Regions from separate parts of the Homo sapiens genome. Here all the other regions are linked to region 1. Evidence: promoter capture Hi-C in 16 types of primary human blood cells and fetal thymus (Javierre and others, 2016). All regions are on one chromosome and are shown on one strand. Each heading gives the region's core, a stretch centred on a gene start or on the middle of the fragment in contact. The rest is flanking DNA. Distances are from core to core; before and after follow the strand shown. Region 1 holds the start of SLITRK3 (SLIT and NTRK like family member 3). Region 2 overlaps OTOL1 (otolin 1). Region 3 has its middle 52 kb from the start of OTOL1. Region 4 has its middle 78 kb from the start of OTOL1. Region 5 has its middle 360 kb from the start of OTOL1.

Evidence for each region. The method cuts DNA at HindIII sites, captures the fragments that hold promoters and counts their contacts. A CHiCAGO score of 5 or more calls a contact.
Region 2: a contact is called between a fragment that was not itself captured here and the fragment with the promoter of SLITRK3 in region 1, in 1 of 17 cell types (M2 macrophages). The highest score is 5.4, in M2 macrophages.
Region 3: a fragment that was not itself captured here is called in contact with the fragment with the promoter of SLITRK3 in region 1 in 3 of 17 cell types (endothelial precursors, M0 macrophages and M1 macrophages); the score reaches 11.6 in endothelial precursors.
Region 4: a fragment that was not itself captured here is called in contact with the fragment with the promoter of SLITRK3 in region 1 in 1 of 17 cell types (endothelial precursors); the score reaches 6.4 in endothelial precursors.
Region 5: a fragment that was not itself captured here is called in contact with the fragment with the promoter of SLITRK3 in region 1 in 1 of 17 cell types (M2 macrophages); the score reaches 5.3 in M2 macrophages.

What each region holds. Positions count from the first base shown.
Region 1 is chr3:165,195,009-165,197,779 of GRCh38, forward strand. SLITRK3 (SLIT and NTRK like family member 3) reads right to left here and starts at 1,376. Exons shown (of 2, transcript NM_001318810.2): 1 at 572-1,376. The HindIII fragment of the contact is 7,642 bases long and covers 1-2,771 here.
Region 2 is chr3:161,501,806-161,504,576 of GRCh38, forward strand. OTOL1 (otolin 1) reads left to right here. Exons shown (of 4, transcript NM_001080440.1): 3 at 502-564; 4 at 1,221-2,137. The coding sequence ends at 2,137. Among named protein-coding and RNA genes, the nearest start is that of OTOL1, 6.4 kb to the left of the region's middle. The HindIII fragment of the contact is 6,905 bases long and covers 1-2,771 here.
Region 3 is chr3:161,546,982-161,549,752 of GRCh38, forward strand. No RefSeq gene overlaps it. Among named protein-coding and RNA genes, the nearest start is that of OTOL1, 52 kb to the left of the region's middle. The HindIII fragment of the contact is 2,520 bases long and covers 124-2,643 here.
Region 4 is chr3:161,573,870-161,576,640 of GRCh38, forward strand. No RefSeq gene overlaps it. Among named protein-coding and RNA genes, the nearest start is that of OTOL1, 78 kb to the left of the region's middle. The HindIII fragment of the contact is 1,612 bases long and covers 622-2,233 here.
Region 5 is chr3:161,859,508-161,862,278 of GRCh38, forward strand. No RefSeq gene overlaps it. Among named protein-coding and RNA genes, the nearest start is that of OTOL1, 360 kb to the left of the region's middle. RefSeq lists an enhancer at 281-847. The HindIII fragment of the contact is 2,625 bases long and covers 124-2,748 here.

The DNA.
Region 1 (2,771 bases), core at 126-2,625:
GCTGTGCCCCCTTCCCACTTCCTCCTCCCCACTGCTGGATCTTACAGCTCACTAATTTTTTCAGATCTAAGATTAAGTATTCCAATATGGAAGCAAAACTATCTTCCCTAGAACAAATAATTAAAACGCTGCATCATTCATTTTCTGAAGAGCTTTGAGCCGTCTATAGAGCCTTTTCTAATCTGCTGTCGTCAGGCGAAACGCACAATGGTCTGTTTAGAAACGGAAAATTATTAAAAGCTCAAGCCTTTTTCCTTCTACCTCTTACAACACCAGCGAGCATTCCACTGGGGGAGGGGTCCTTCGCTCCGCCACCTGGCCTATTTGTTGGAGTTACTTACGATGTCTTCACCCAGAAAAGAGGTCCGAGGGTATGTTAGTCTCCGGTACCCCTCCTTCCACCAACGTCCTTACACCTAACTGATCCAATTCAAAACTGCAACAAACCCCTAGCACCTGTGAGCGTACAGAATACACCGCGGCCAAACTCGATGTGCTCTACAATGCACATCCTACATACGAGAAATACTGGTTTCAATTAGGCGAAGTAGGAAAGGATGGCGGCGAGTACCTATGGTGCAGAGCGCTCAGGATCTCCGAGGTTTGCTGCGAGGGGCTACCCAGCAGGAGGGGCAAACTCTCTGCGAAGCTGAATTGTATCCATCATACTGTAGCCTTGTAGCTTCTCCTCTTCTGGCCACCAACTTTCCGAAAGGCTACCGAATCACGCTTGTAATCCGTTTAAATGTTTCCACCTTTGAGACTTGCAGGGAAATGGTCGCTGCATACCAATGGGAGAGCGGGGCGCGCACCTAGCGCGGCGATGCCAGCGACAGGGAGCTCACGACCACAGCTCCCTATGCCCTCGATGGTTGGTAGGCAGGCAGGCAGAGTGAGTGTCCCAGGACTAGGTTCCTTTGATTTAAAATCTCGGTGCTCTGGATCAGTGGAGAGCTTCGTTGTTCCCGAGAGCCTGAGCTCAGTCTCTGGATTTCTCTCTTTCTCTCTTCCTCAAAGGTTGTCACTCACAGCGCAATCCCTGCCCGAGGCCTCCTTCCATCCGAGAAGATGGAATTAGCCCTTGCTTTTCCAGGGTGTCTTTGCTCTTTGCCCTTTAGGTGGGTGGGAGTGGGGGTTGGTGGCGTGTAGATGAGAGAAGAAAAGGGTGGGGAGAGGCGGAAAGGAGGCAGGAAGGGGGCGACTAGATCTCAGATCCCAGCATTGGTCAGACGGCGAAGGTGGGGGGAAAGAAGGAGAGGGGGAGAGAAGATACAAATACACAGTATGGCTGTGCACACCAAATTCCACTTGGATTTGGGAGATCTCAGGCAAAGCACGAAGGTGAAGCGATACCGTTGGCAGAGAGTGAGTCCTCTGACCGCTCACCATTCAAGCACCCTCACTTCTCGAGCGGGAGAAGGTGCGGGGGAGGGGGGTGGGAGGGGGAGGGGACTGCTGAACGTTTCAGGCCAAGGAGACGCTCGCGGCGGCGGCGGCGGCGGCATCTTTTAAGACTGACCTGCTTTAAAAGTGCCACTTTAATGGCCTAGGAAATAACTAAAATCGGATTACACGTTACTTACCAACGTCTCCTCCTAAACTGGAGCGCCAGGTCGTGTATAAGGAGTCAATATAGGAAACGCAGGGCTGGAACCTGAATGCAAATCCATCAGCCGCCCCCAAATCGCGCACCAAGGGAGCGGCGCTCGGGAGCCCCCAGATCAGCCCATCGCCGGAGCTCCGCCAGCGCGTCCCCCCCGCACCCCCGGCCCCTCCTCCGCGCCAACTGTGTAAATCAGCCGCCGCAGTCCTCTCGCCGCGCATCGCAGGCAAAATCCCGGCTTAGGAAGCAAGGAAGCAAGTGATCTCTCTCTCTCTCTCTCTCTCTGTCTCTCTCTCTCTCTCTCTCTCTCTCTCTCCTCTCTCTGTCTCTCTCTCTCTCGCTCTCTCTCTCGCTCTCGCTCTCGCTCTCTCTCTCTCGCTTTCGCTGTCCGCCTTTCCCTCTCCCCCATTATCGGTCACAACCTGGCAGCTCTTCAAGAGACACCCTGTGAAATTGAGTGTCGGGAAGTCAGCATTCTGTACCCGTGGATTGATTTGTAACTTTTATTTGCAAATGAGAGAGATGCCTGTTTGGAAAATTACAGCCCAAAAGGTGGAGGGTGATCAAATTAAGAACATCTGAGCTGTATTGGTGGGCGGTATCGCTAAACGCCTCCGGGGAGCGGTTTCCAAGTGATTTGCAGTAATCCCCCACCTTCATGATACATGGGTGACGATTTGAAAGTACACATATTTCCTCATCTGTTTACATTTGCCGGGGGCGGGGGGCATAAAACTGTAGGGCACAGGGAGTTGGGAGGGGGGCATTTGCCTGAGAGATGCTGGATACCATTTCGCGATAAATTAGATACGGACACTGGAACAATTAATACGTGTAATAACACGTATGTGAAAGTATTATTACAACATTACAGAGGCGACCATTACCCCCACTGCAGTCATACTAATGCAGTCATTCGTTTAATGCTCCATTCAATCTGCAGTGTAAACCAACGCAATTCTTTTTAATAGATCCCTTTCATCAGAGACTGTGTTGGAAAGAGGGCAGTCTTCCACTAACTCCCAAAGTGAATAGAAGGTAGCCTGGGGAATCATCTCTGTATCTCTTGCCATTTCTTCCTGAAGAGAATGCAATACATTGTCCAAGGAAGGCAAAGTTATTTAGCTATTATAATTGTAGGTAGAATGATCTTGAACCTATTTTCAAA
Region 2 (2,771 bases), core at 190-2,689, 3.7 Mb before region 1:
AGGGATCACTGCCTCCAGATCGCTAAAATAGTTTACCAGTTGAAATTAATTATTCCTAATGACCCTCAATACATTTTTTTTGACCAAGTCTCACTCTGTCACCCAGGCTAAAGTGCAGCGGTGTGATCTCAGCTTACTGCAATCTCCACCTCCTGAGTTCAAGCAATTCTTGTGCCTCAGCCTCCCAAGTAGCTGGGACTACAGGTGTGCACCACCAAACCCGGCTAATTTTTTGTATTTTTTGTAGAGATGGGGTTTCACCATGTTGGCCAGGCTGGCCTGGAACTCCTGACCTCAGGTGATCCACCCGCCTCGGCCTCCCACAGTGTTGGGATTATAGGAGTGAGCCGCCGTGCCTGGCGTACATTCTTTTTCCACACGATTTAACTTTAGCCCATTTTGGTTAAAGAAAACACTAGAATGTGACATGGTTGTGAGAGGAATATTAAATATATCATAAATGATGTAGTTGGTAAAAAGTTAATCTTGGTATCATCTTAGGACTCAAAGGAGAACGTGGGGACCAAGGAGTTCCAGGATACCCAGGAAAACCGGGAGCACAAGGTAGAGCATGAAATGTATCTACTGTGTACAGTCAGGTGCGCAGTATAGCCCTTCATTCTCTTCCTGCTTGTATTTAAAATTATCAGAGAGGTAAGCTGAAAATACAAATTACTGTTATTCTTCTAATAATTCAGTGTACTGACTCAGTGAAGGAGAACCAGTCTAGGAATTTGGAGACCAGGTAATAGTATCTGTGCTCTGCTTCTCTCTCTAGCTGTCAATGGAAAATAAAAATCCCTCACTCGTTCTGGGTCTCAGTTTCCTTGCCAATAATAATTTAGGCTTGAATGGACAATATGGGGATTTAGGGGAATACCTGGGTTAGGCCAAAATGCAAAGGGTAATGGAATACAACGAACAACTACAGTCCTAATATTCTTTATTATCTTAAAAGTGAAAAAACAAAAAGAATTAGATATATGGCATCTGAATATAAGCCACTGTTTCTTGGAAACATTAACTATTCCCCTTCTAAGAGCATGGCATAATATAAATTATTCATTGTCAGAGCCTCCTAAGTGTGCACAGTTTTTACTGAGGAAAGAATCAGGTTTCCTAATTAGTAGGTTTGTTTCTACTTTTTTGAGCTCTGTGGTAATAGCATGCTGTTTATGGCCTATGTGATCCTTAAACATTATTTTAATTTTCCATTTCAGGTGAACCTGGCCCTAAGGGAGATAAAGGAAACATTGGTTTGGGAGGAGTGAAAGGACAAAAAGGCTCCAAGGGAGACACATGTGGGAATTGTACCAAAGGAGAAAAAGGAGACCAAGGGGCTATGGGCTCACCTGGCCTGCACGGAGGGCCTGGCGCCAAGGGAGAGAAGGGGGAGATGGGGGAGAAGGGGGAGATGGGGGATAAGGGCTGCTGTGGAGATTCTGGGGAGAGGGGAGGAAAAGGACAGAAAGGTGAGGGGGGTATGAAAGGGGAAAAAGGTAGCAAAGGAGACAGTGGAATGGAAGGCAAAAGCGGCCGTAATGGTCTGCCTGGGGCCAAAGGTGATCCAGGGATTAAAGGAGAAAAAGGAGAGTTAGGTCCTCCTGGTCTCCTGGGACCTACTGGGCCGAAGGGTGACATTGGCAACAAAGGGGTCCGAGGCCCCACTGGGAAGAAGGGCTCTCGGGGCTTTAAAGGCTCCAAGGGTGAGTTGGCTAGAGTGCCCCGGTCGGCTTTCAGCGCTGGTTTGTCAAAGCCATTTCCTCCTCCTAACATCCCCATCAAATTTGAAAAGATTCTCTATAATGACCAAGGGAATTACAGTCCTGTCACTGGGAAGTTTAACTGCTCTATTCCTGGGACATATGTTTTTTCCTACCATATTACGGTGAGGGGGCGACCTGCTCGAATCAGTCTGGTGGCCCAGAATAAGAAGCAGTTCAAGTCCAGAGAAACTCTCTATGGTCAGGAAATAGACCAGGCCTCTCTCCTCGTCATCTTGAAATTAAGTGCAGGAGACCAAGTCTGGCTTGAGGTGTCAAAAGATTGGAATGGGGTGTATGTCAGTGCTGAGGATGACAGCATTTTTACTGGGTTCCTTTTGTACCCAGAGGAAACTTCTGGAATTTCACCATAAATTTGTGTCCTGAATCCTGTAGTTTAGATTCAGTGGAATAAGTCAGTTAACACAGAGTAGTGCTATTAAAAAATAACTTCCATTTTTTCAAGATTATAAAAATAATACAGAAAAATTTAAAAAGTCACCTAGTCAATTATTATTCCTATTTTAAGGCACCTCCTTTAAAAATATTTATATGTATTTCAGAGCATATGTCTATTAACTTTGTAGGTAGCTTTTAAAATTTGGCATTATTAGCATTAGTCATTCCATTTAAGCATAATAATTAATATTTGTATACAAAGTATGAATGGGATTTATAATTAATAAATGTATTCTTGCTAAATATCTTCTATATCTCAGATCAATGTGTGTCACTTCTTTCTGTGTGAATTGCAGAGTATGACAGCAAGTTTTTGACTCTCTTGGGTGGGTTGCCTTCTGACAAAATGGAGCTATTCTCATGTTAGTTTAATTCATGGAGATGACACAGAAAGGGTGGCAAAGACTAGCTAAAGGATATTTAAAATTTATCAGTGTGTAAAGGTTTGCTTAGAAAACTTATATTATATGGACTTGTGTATTGGGTAAAATGTAAGAAAAAGTTGATGATCATAGTGAAGATGAAATCATTCATCAAATTATTGTGCTT
Region 3 (2,771 bases), core at 134-2,633, 3.6 Mb before region 1:
GCACTGGAATTATAGGCATGAGCCACCACATATGACCTTATTTATAATAAGAATCATTTTTAGTTATAAAAAAGTAGGGGCAACATTGCTAATAGAGAAGTCTTTTGTTAATATAAACAGTAAAGCTTCTTTCATTCTTTTCAGTCTCTCTCAATGTTCTATTCAGGTTTTATAGTTGTGGGAGAGCATATCTGATTTTACATGATTGTTCCCCCAAGTGTCTGAGATCAATGTTAAAGTATTCTGAGAAACTTAAGACTATTGCTATTTTTCTTCACATACAAATAGAATCATCCATTTTTAGTGGCTTTATTCATCAAACTAGTCAGATGATAGCCAGATTAGCTAGGAACACACAACATAAGTTGATCAGTTTGGTCTGACTATTGGTATAACTTTTTCACTAAACTAACTTGGTTTCCTTGCTTTGACACAACTAGTCAAATCATTTGGAGCAATGAAATTGACCTGCTTTGAGTAAACTTTGGTTTTACTGGATCTGTTGGGATACTTGGCTATGAAGCGTGGAAGAATCTGAATAACTCTTTAATGCAAACTTTGGTTGGTGTCTTTCTAAAGATAGTATTATATCTAGGATTGGATAAAGCCTATGTTAAGAAAAAAAATGTCTCTTGAACAAACAGTGGTCTAGAAACAAACTTAAACCATGCTAAGTTGTGTGTTAACCACCAAATCTTTATGACATAAATTTTCCAATTCACGGTGCTTTGATTTGGATTTAGATTCTGATTCAAATTACAGATAATACTGGATTACATCTGTTCCTTGTAGTTGTGGGAAATTCACTTAACCGTTTTTTTTTTTTACCTCGGTTTCTTCAGCTTAAAAAAAACGCTATTACTTGATCTGCCTACCCCGTCTTACAGGGTTGGTATAAAGATACAATGGAAAATGAATACAAGATTTCTTTATAAAAAGTATTTACAAGAATCTTATGTGAGTTTTCTGAATTAATTATTTAACTGCTTTTTCTGCATAAAAATTTAAAATATGTTGGTTTTAGTTTCTCCTGCATTCCTCCCAAATTAGAATTCATTTTTAATATTTGTATGGAAAATAATTATTTTGGGTTAGCAGGATTTAGCATTTTCAAAAGACTAAGAAAAATACATCAGAAGGTAGAGTGGTAGTTTATGTGCTGTCCCTAGAGAAATAGCTTTAGGATTCTGTTTTGGGATCAACAGCTCTACTGTATACAAAAGTGATAAATAATAAAAATTTAAATAATAGCTGGCACTCACTGATCATTTACCATGAGCTAATTACTATCTAAATCACTTGCTATAAAACAACCCATTAAATCTTGCAAAAGCTCTATGGAGTAGACACTGTTATTATCCTCATTTTACAGTTGGGAAGCCTGAAGCACAGAGAGGTTAAGTAATGTCCCGAAGATCACACAACTCTACAGTGGTAGAGCTAAGATTTGTAGGCAGGAAGTCTGGCTCTAGGCTTTGTGCTCTTAACCACTGTACTATACTTTGTTTTGTTAATTTATTTTCCCGTCTCCTTGACAACGTTACTGGATCTGTTTCAATTTCTTTACCATTAGCAAAGAAACTTTTTGGTCAGCATTTTCAGGCAGTTTTCCTATTCAGCCATGGAAAGTCATTTGAAGTTCTTTCTGTGGCAATAGATGTGAAGATTCAGCTGGATTTTGCCTTGCATAAGCTACGTGTGTAATTAAGGAATTTTTCAGATATAAGGGTTCTATAAGTAAGTAGAAGTCAGATTGCCATGGCCAGTACTTCAATGAAAAGACAATTAACTCCATTATAACTAGTTTTGCTGCTTTTATTTGGCTAAAAGAACGAGAGATATTAAAATAACTTTAACTGATTTTGTTTCTGGTCAAGAACTAACAGTGGTAACGCTTTGAGCCATTATTAGAGCACACTTTAATATTCTATTAAATATACTCTTTTTGTTGTTTGTTTTTTAAACAGAATCTCATTCTGTTGCCCAGGCTGGAGTGCAATGGCGTGATCTTGGCTCACTGCAACCTCTGCTTCCTAGGTTCAAGTGATTCTCTTGCCTCAGCCTCCCAAGTAGCTGGCATTACGGGTGTGTACCACCATGCCCAGTTAATTATTTTTATTTTTATTTTTGTATTTTTAGTAGAGACAGGGTTTCACCATGTTGGCCAGGCTGGTCTCAAACTCCTGACCTCCAGTGATCCACCCGTCTTGGCCTCCCAAAGTGCTGGAATTACAGGCAGGAGCCACCACACCTGGACTAAAGATACTTTTCCATGCTTTTGGTTTCTATTACACAATGCTGGTCAAGTCCATTAGAACCATTTAAAATAATACAATGGTGCATCCTATAAGCACTATGAACAACTATTTTTTGGTCCTCTGTTCCTCAGATCTCTTTTTCTTTAAAATGTGTGTTTGGGTAAGGCAATATTCTCAAGAGGTTCTTTCATCCTGACAGGGCAATGAGACAGATGACTCATCACATACATGTGTTTGGCCATACATGCTGCATTCCTACATGCTTCAGCAAGCTGTAGTTTCTTCCAATCCTTTTTCTATGCAAAGGGAATTTCTCTAAGCTACATATATTGTATTTTCGCCTTTCTCTTCTCTTTTACTTTAAAAATCTTTTAAAACAATTTTAAGCTTATAATAAAATCTGCACCAATCAAAGAACTTTTTTTTTCCCTGAACCTTTTTAGAGTAAGTTGCTGACACAATGCTTCACCATTCTAATACACTTTAGTTTGTATTCCCTACAAAAAGGATATT
Region 4 (2,771 bases), core at 178-2,677, 3.6 Mb before region 1:
ATCTAACTGTATTTTTGTACCCATTTTTACAGAATTAATTCATGCTTATTTTGGAAATTTAAACAAAATGGAAAAGTGTTAGATAAAATTGCTTTCCTCAAAATTACCCATCATTAGCCATTTTATATATTTCCCTTCAATCTTTCCTTTAGCAAATAGTTTTGTTTTACAAAGCCGACATACTAAAATACATTCAATTTTATATCCTTCTCTTTTTTCACTTATGTTAAGTACCTTATTGTCTTATTAAAAACTCTAAAATGGGCCACGTGCTGTGACTCACACCTGTAATCCTGGCACTTTGGGAGGCCGAGGCGGGCAGATCACCAGGTCAGGAGATGGAGACCATCCTGGCTAACACGCTGAAACCCCGTCTTTACTAAAAATACACACACACACAAATAACCGGGTGTGGTTGCAGGCACCTGTAGTCCCAGCTACTCGGGAGGCTGAGGCAGGAGAATAGCTTGAACCCGGGAGGCAGAGGTTGCAGTGAGCCGAGATCGCGCCACTGCACTCCTCCCTGGGCGACAGAGCGAGACTCCGTCACAGACAAACAAACAAACACTCTAAAATGTCATGTAGATTATTTTTCCCCACAAAAATATATAATTTGTCAAAAGCTTAGGAAAGGCTGCTGCCTCATTTTAGTATTTATCCTCTTTTCTCCTTTCTCTTTTATAGCCTTAATCTTTTCCTCTCAATCACTTCAATCTCAATCTCTCATTTTAAACATATTTTCTAAGCATATGTCTCATTCTAATTCTTGCCCTTTCTCCTCCTTCTTGAAAGAGGTCAGTCTTTCACTTTTGAAACCATTCTATTTAGACTTCTGCCTCCAACAATCTGTAGCACAATGAGCTCTGGAAATTGGTGCCACTGACAGCTGGGGCACTCAATCCACTGGCCTCTTTGCAGTTTTACCTTGACCTCTCTGTGTAACCAGTTTTTGGAGGGCTACACTTTCTCTGCCCAATCCTTAGTGTGCTGGTGTCTTCTAGGACTCAGTCCTTGCTCCTCTTTTCAATCTTTGCACTCATCCTCTCCTGTGACTCCTACCACAATTCGTGTGTCCATTACTCACAAGTACACCCTTCAGACCCAGCTCTCCATTGGCTATGATCACTTAGATGCTCCTCAGACAGTTCCAACTCTTTATGTCTGAATGCCACTATTCTTTCTTCTCTCTGCTTTGCTTCTATTGGATTCTGTCTTTCATTCTCCTCTTTCCAAAATCAAAGTTTTGCGAAACCGCTTCACTCCTTCATTCTAACTCCTTCACCTCTGTTAGCATGTCAAAAAGTCCTGAAAGACAACCTCTCTTGTACCACCCATGGCTGCCTCCTCTCCTCTCCAGAGCTGCTACCTCAATTCAGTCCTATGATATTGTTACCTTGAGTACTGGCTCCCACTTCTCTGTTCCTCCTATTCACTGATAGTAGTGATCTTCAATCTGTTTGCCTAACAGTATTCAAATTGTAAGACTTAGATGAAAAGTTAACCTTATAAAAACTTTCCTGACTTTCATCTCCCCATTGTAAAGTTGAACACTCTTTCCCTTGTGACTCTCTACTGTACCATGCACATCCCTTCTCAGGGTACTTAAACTCATATATATTTACATGTATTTTTTTTCTGCATTAGACTGCAACCCACTATAAAGCAGGAATCATGTTTAGAAAAATATGACTTATTTGTCTTTGTATTTTTTGTGCCTGGAACATAGTTGATATATAGTAAGTCATAAATGTACAAAGGGTCAGATTGATAATACTTAATCTTTTTGTTTAGTAAAGTATTGTAAATATTTCCAATTTACAGTTTATATCTAATGCTATAAAACTTATAATACATCTCTATTTGAATTTTACATTCTTTCTTAAAATAAGAATAATCCTCAGAAGTGAAATTACAGGGATAAATAGTATAAACATTTTAAAGATTCCTGATACATATTGCCCAAATACATATCAGAATATTTTCTGATGTTTCTAATAGTCAACATAAATTTTTATAATTTTTTGTTTTTAAAAAAATAACATAATGAAATCACAGATTCTTTGCAGTTTTCCTATAGGAGAGTTATTTTAAGGTTGGATAATGTTCAGTTTGTATTTGTAAACTCACATAGCAACATGCTGAAGTTAGTAATATTAAATTACCCTTTATCTTCCAATGTCATTGAAAGTACAGAAGATAGCATTTAATATAAGCCAAATACGCAATGTGTAAAAGCTTTAGGGGTCTTTTTCTTTCTTTTCTTTTGGTCACAGTCTAATAAATTCCTAGTGGACTTTTGATTATTAAGACACAGTGCAAGGCCTGCCTTTTTAACCTTCCTTTCTGAATAGACTATTGATTCAACTAAACTGCTTTTTAAAAATTCAATATGCGCATCTGGGGAGTCTGCTACCTCTGTGCTTTACAGGAAGGTTGTGAGGATTAATACATTTATATAGCATTATGTGACTCTTGGATGAAAGGATTGGTATAAACAACAACTCTAGTATTGTTATTTAAAAGCGAACTTTCTTTGTGGAAAGTAAAAAAGGCTTTCCACAGTAACTTTTGATTAAAAGTTATGTACTCCAGTACTTTTTTTTTCCAAAGGCAATCTCCAAGGAAGTCTTGAAAATTGTATACCTTGCCAACTGCTGACACGATGCAGCAGAAAGGATAAGTGATATAGACTCATTTCTGTCCATCTATTTTAGGCAAGTATGGCCTTGATTTAGTCTCAGCTCATCTTAACTGCCCTGGGTGTGGTGTGT
Region 5 (2,771 bases), core at 186-2,685, 3.3 Mb before region 1:
GAAGTTGTGTGGTCAGTGAAGTTACTTATTTTCTTCTGAAACAAAAATTTACATTTATCTTTATATTTTTTTCTGGAAAGAAAAAGGTTAGCCACAGTTACTTATCACAACCTACTTCTGCTAAGCTTTTCCTTAATTAAAATAAGTGTTTGTGACTAGCAACAGTTATTAAAAGCACATAATATAAATATCTTCTCACATATATTGCTCCTTTTTGTTGTTTAGAAAGAGCACCAGATTATTACCACATAATTTCTTCTCTGATAATCCTTTTAATAAGGGAATAAACTTCAGGAAGTGGTTTTAAAAAATATTACGGCTGAAAAGTGCTAGTGAGAGGAAACTACAGACCTAAACAGCTTTTCCATTTCTTTGGATTTTATATTTTTAACAATAGATTGCATAGTTAGTTGCCTGCTTGGCAAGTTTATTATCCTTATCCAGTTGCCAAGCGAGAAACATTTCCAAACTGACAGCAGGTATTAAAAACACCTACAAGTGATTCAAGCCATTAAGAACTCATAAAACTTGAGTGTTCACTGGGCTTTGCTTTGTTGGCCAGGCTTTTCCTCAGGGAGCCCCCCTCCAGCTCCTGAAAGGAGATGACAGGCATTTCAAGGTGAAAGCATCAGCTTTTAACTGAAACTCTTAGGGTTCCACCCAAACAAAAAGAGAGTATTTTCCTCATATCTAAATATTTAAAGCTGATTCGTCAACTAATCTGGATTAAGAACAAAGGGCATCTGTGTTTCTCTGATACTGTCTAAAGTACTCGTAAAAAGCAGTTGTGGTGTAACTTACCGAACCCATACTTTTCTTTTATATTTTGTTAGTGTCTGTAAAAGGAAGATATCACTTCAGATTTCTTTGTAATGTAGATGCTTAGCAGTTTTTCCTATCATTGTTGAGGGCTGGGTTCATTTGAAAGGCTCTGGTTCAGTTTACTGAGAATTCCATACAGGGATTATGAACTCAAATTACCTATAGGGTTCAGGAAGATAACATAAATATGCAAATTAAGGGGGGGACTGAAGCAGTCAGGAGTATGGGATCCCTTGTGAACAGGACGGGACACATCTCACCTAAATGCATATTCATTTTTATTGTTAACACAAAAACCAAACAAAATACTTGTTAGATCTACAGACCACAAGTTTGAAACTCCTAATCTAGCCTTTGAAAGGAAACTCTGATATCCCCAAGAAAATCATATATTGGACCCCTCACTAAAATGGCCAACTCACTGTCTGTAAGACAATCAAACAATGGGATGAAGAAAATGAATTTAAACAGAACTTCTTTAAAAACTTAAAAGACTTAAGTATCTGCTGGGGAACATTACTTCTTTTACTTTAAAACATATTAAGATGCATGACTTTGAAGCATTGCTTGCCTGTAAGTCTTAGCTAAGGGCAAACATTTTATTGGTGCTCCAACACCCTATTATTAGATTTATTTCAGAACGTTCTCTTAACTTTGCATCTAGTAGTACTATACAAAAATATTTTATATAAAAATAAAAAATAACAGTAATTACATTTTTAAAAATATCCACATCCACAAGAGCAGAGGGAATGATAGGGGGCAGGTAACAGTGGGTGAGTGTTGGCAGGATACCAGCATTTTTATTTTTTTATTTTTTATTTTTTTGAGACTGAGTTTCGCTCTTGTTGCCCAGGCTGGAGTGCAATGGCGCGATCTCGGCTCACTGCAACCTCCGCCTCCCGGGTTCAAGCGATTCTCCTGCCTCAGCCTCCAAGTAGCTGGGATTACAGGCATGCACCACCACATCTGGCTGATTTTGTACTTTTAATAGAGACGGGGTTTCTCCTTGTTGGTCAGGCTGGTCTCAAACTGCCGACCTCAGGTGATCCGCCCACCTCGGCCTCCCAAAGTGCTGGGATTACAGGCGTGAGCCACCGTGCCCGGCAGTATATATTTTTAAGATTGGAAGTTCATAGTTGGGTGAGAAGTACCTGAAAGTGGAAGAGGCTGAAACCTAAAAACATATCGGGGGCAGGCGGAGGGTGGGGGTGCGGGAGTGGTGCTAGTAAATGCCAATTGATTCATCTGTCAAACCCTAGAATAACTCAGAAATTCAAGAAACCAGGTCAATGGAAAGATGGAAATAAATGATGTGACAACAACTGGGGGTTGAGGGACTATTTGGAAGCCTGAAAGAGCTATTAGAATCCCTGGATATCTACTTTATTCCACAGAGTAAAGTTATTAGTCCAGCCCGGCCCTCAAAAAAACTGGTTGATGTATATTTTGGAGCAATTGCATTCTGTACTCTAAGAAGCCAGACATATTGGAAGGAGAGGTTGAGGTAGTGTGCTGAGAACAGGTGTTTTGTTTCAAATATACTGGCAGCCAGACAAACCCCCAGGCAGGAGACTGGAGGTTGGGAGAAACTAAATCTCAAAGAAGAGATGTACAGAGAGTGATATTTTGGTGTACCTGACCAATCACATGGCAATGAAGAAGTTTCAATAGTTAGTGTATCATTTAAAAAAATTGAAAATAGATATATATGTAATTATTAAATATTTCAAGCAAAGAAAGCAACACACACCCATGAGTATACGATCAAAATTTTAAAAGATGCTAATATTTTCCATATTAGCTTCAAAGTTTTCTCTTTAAGAAAAATAAATTAGCTACTGCTAAAGTAGCATCCTGATCCTTTCATTCTCTATTCATCCCATTCACTTTGAGGTGAACACATTCCTGTATTATTCCCTTGCAAGCTTATCTATTTTTACTCTATA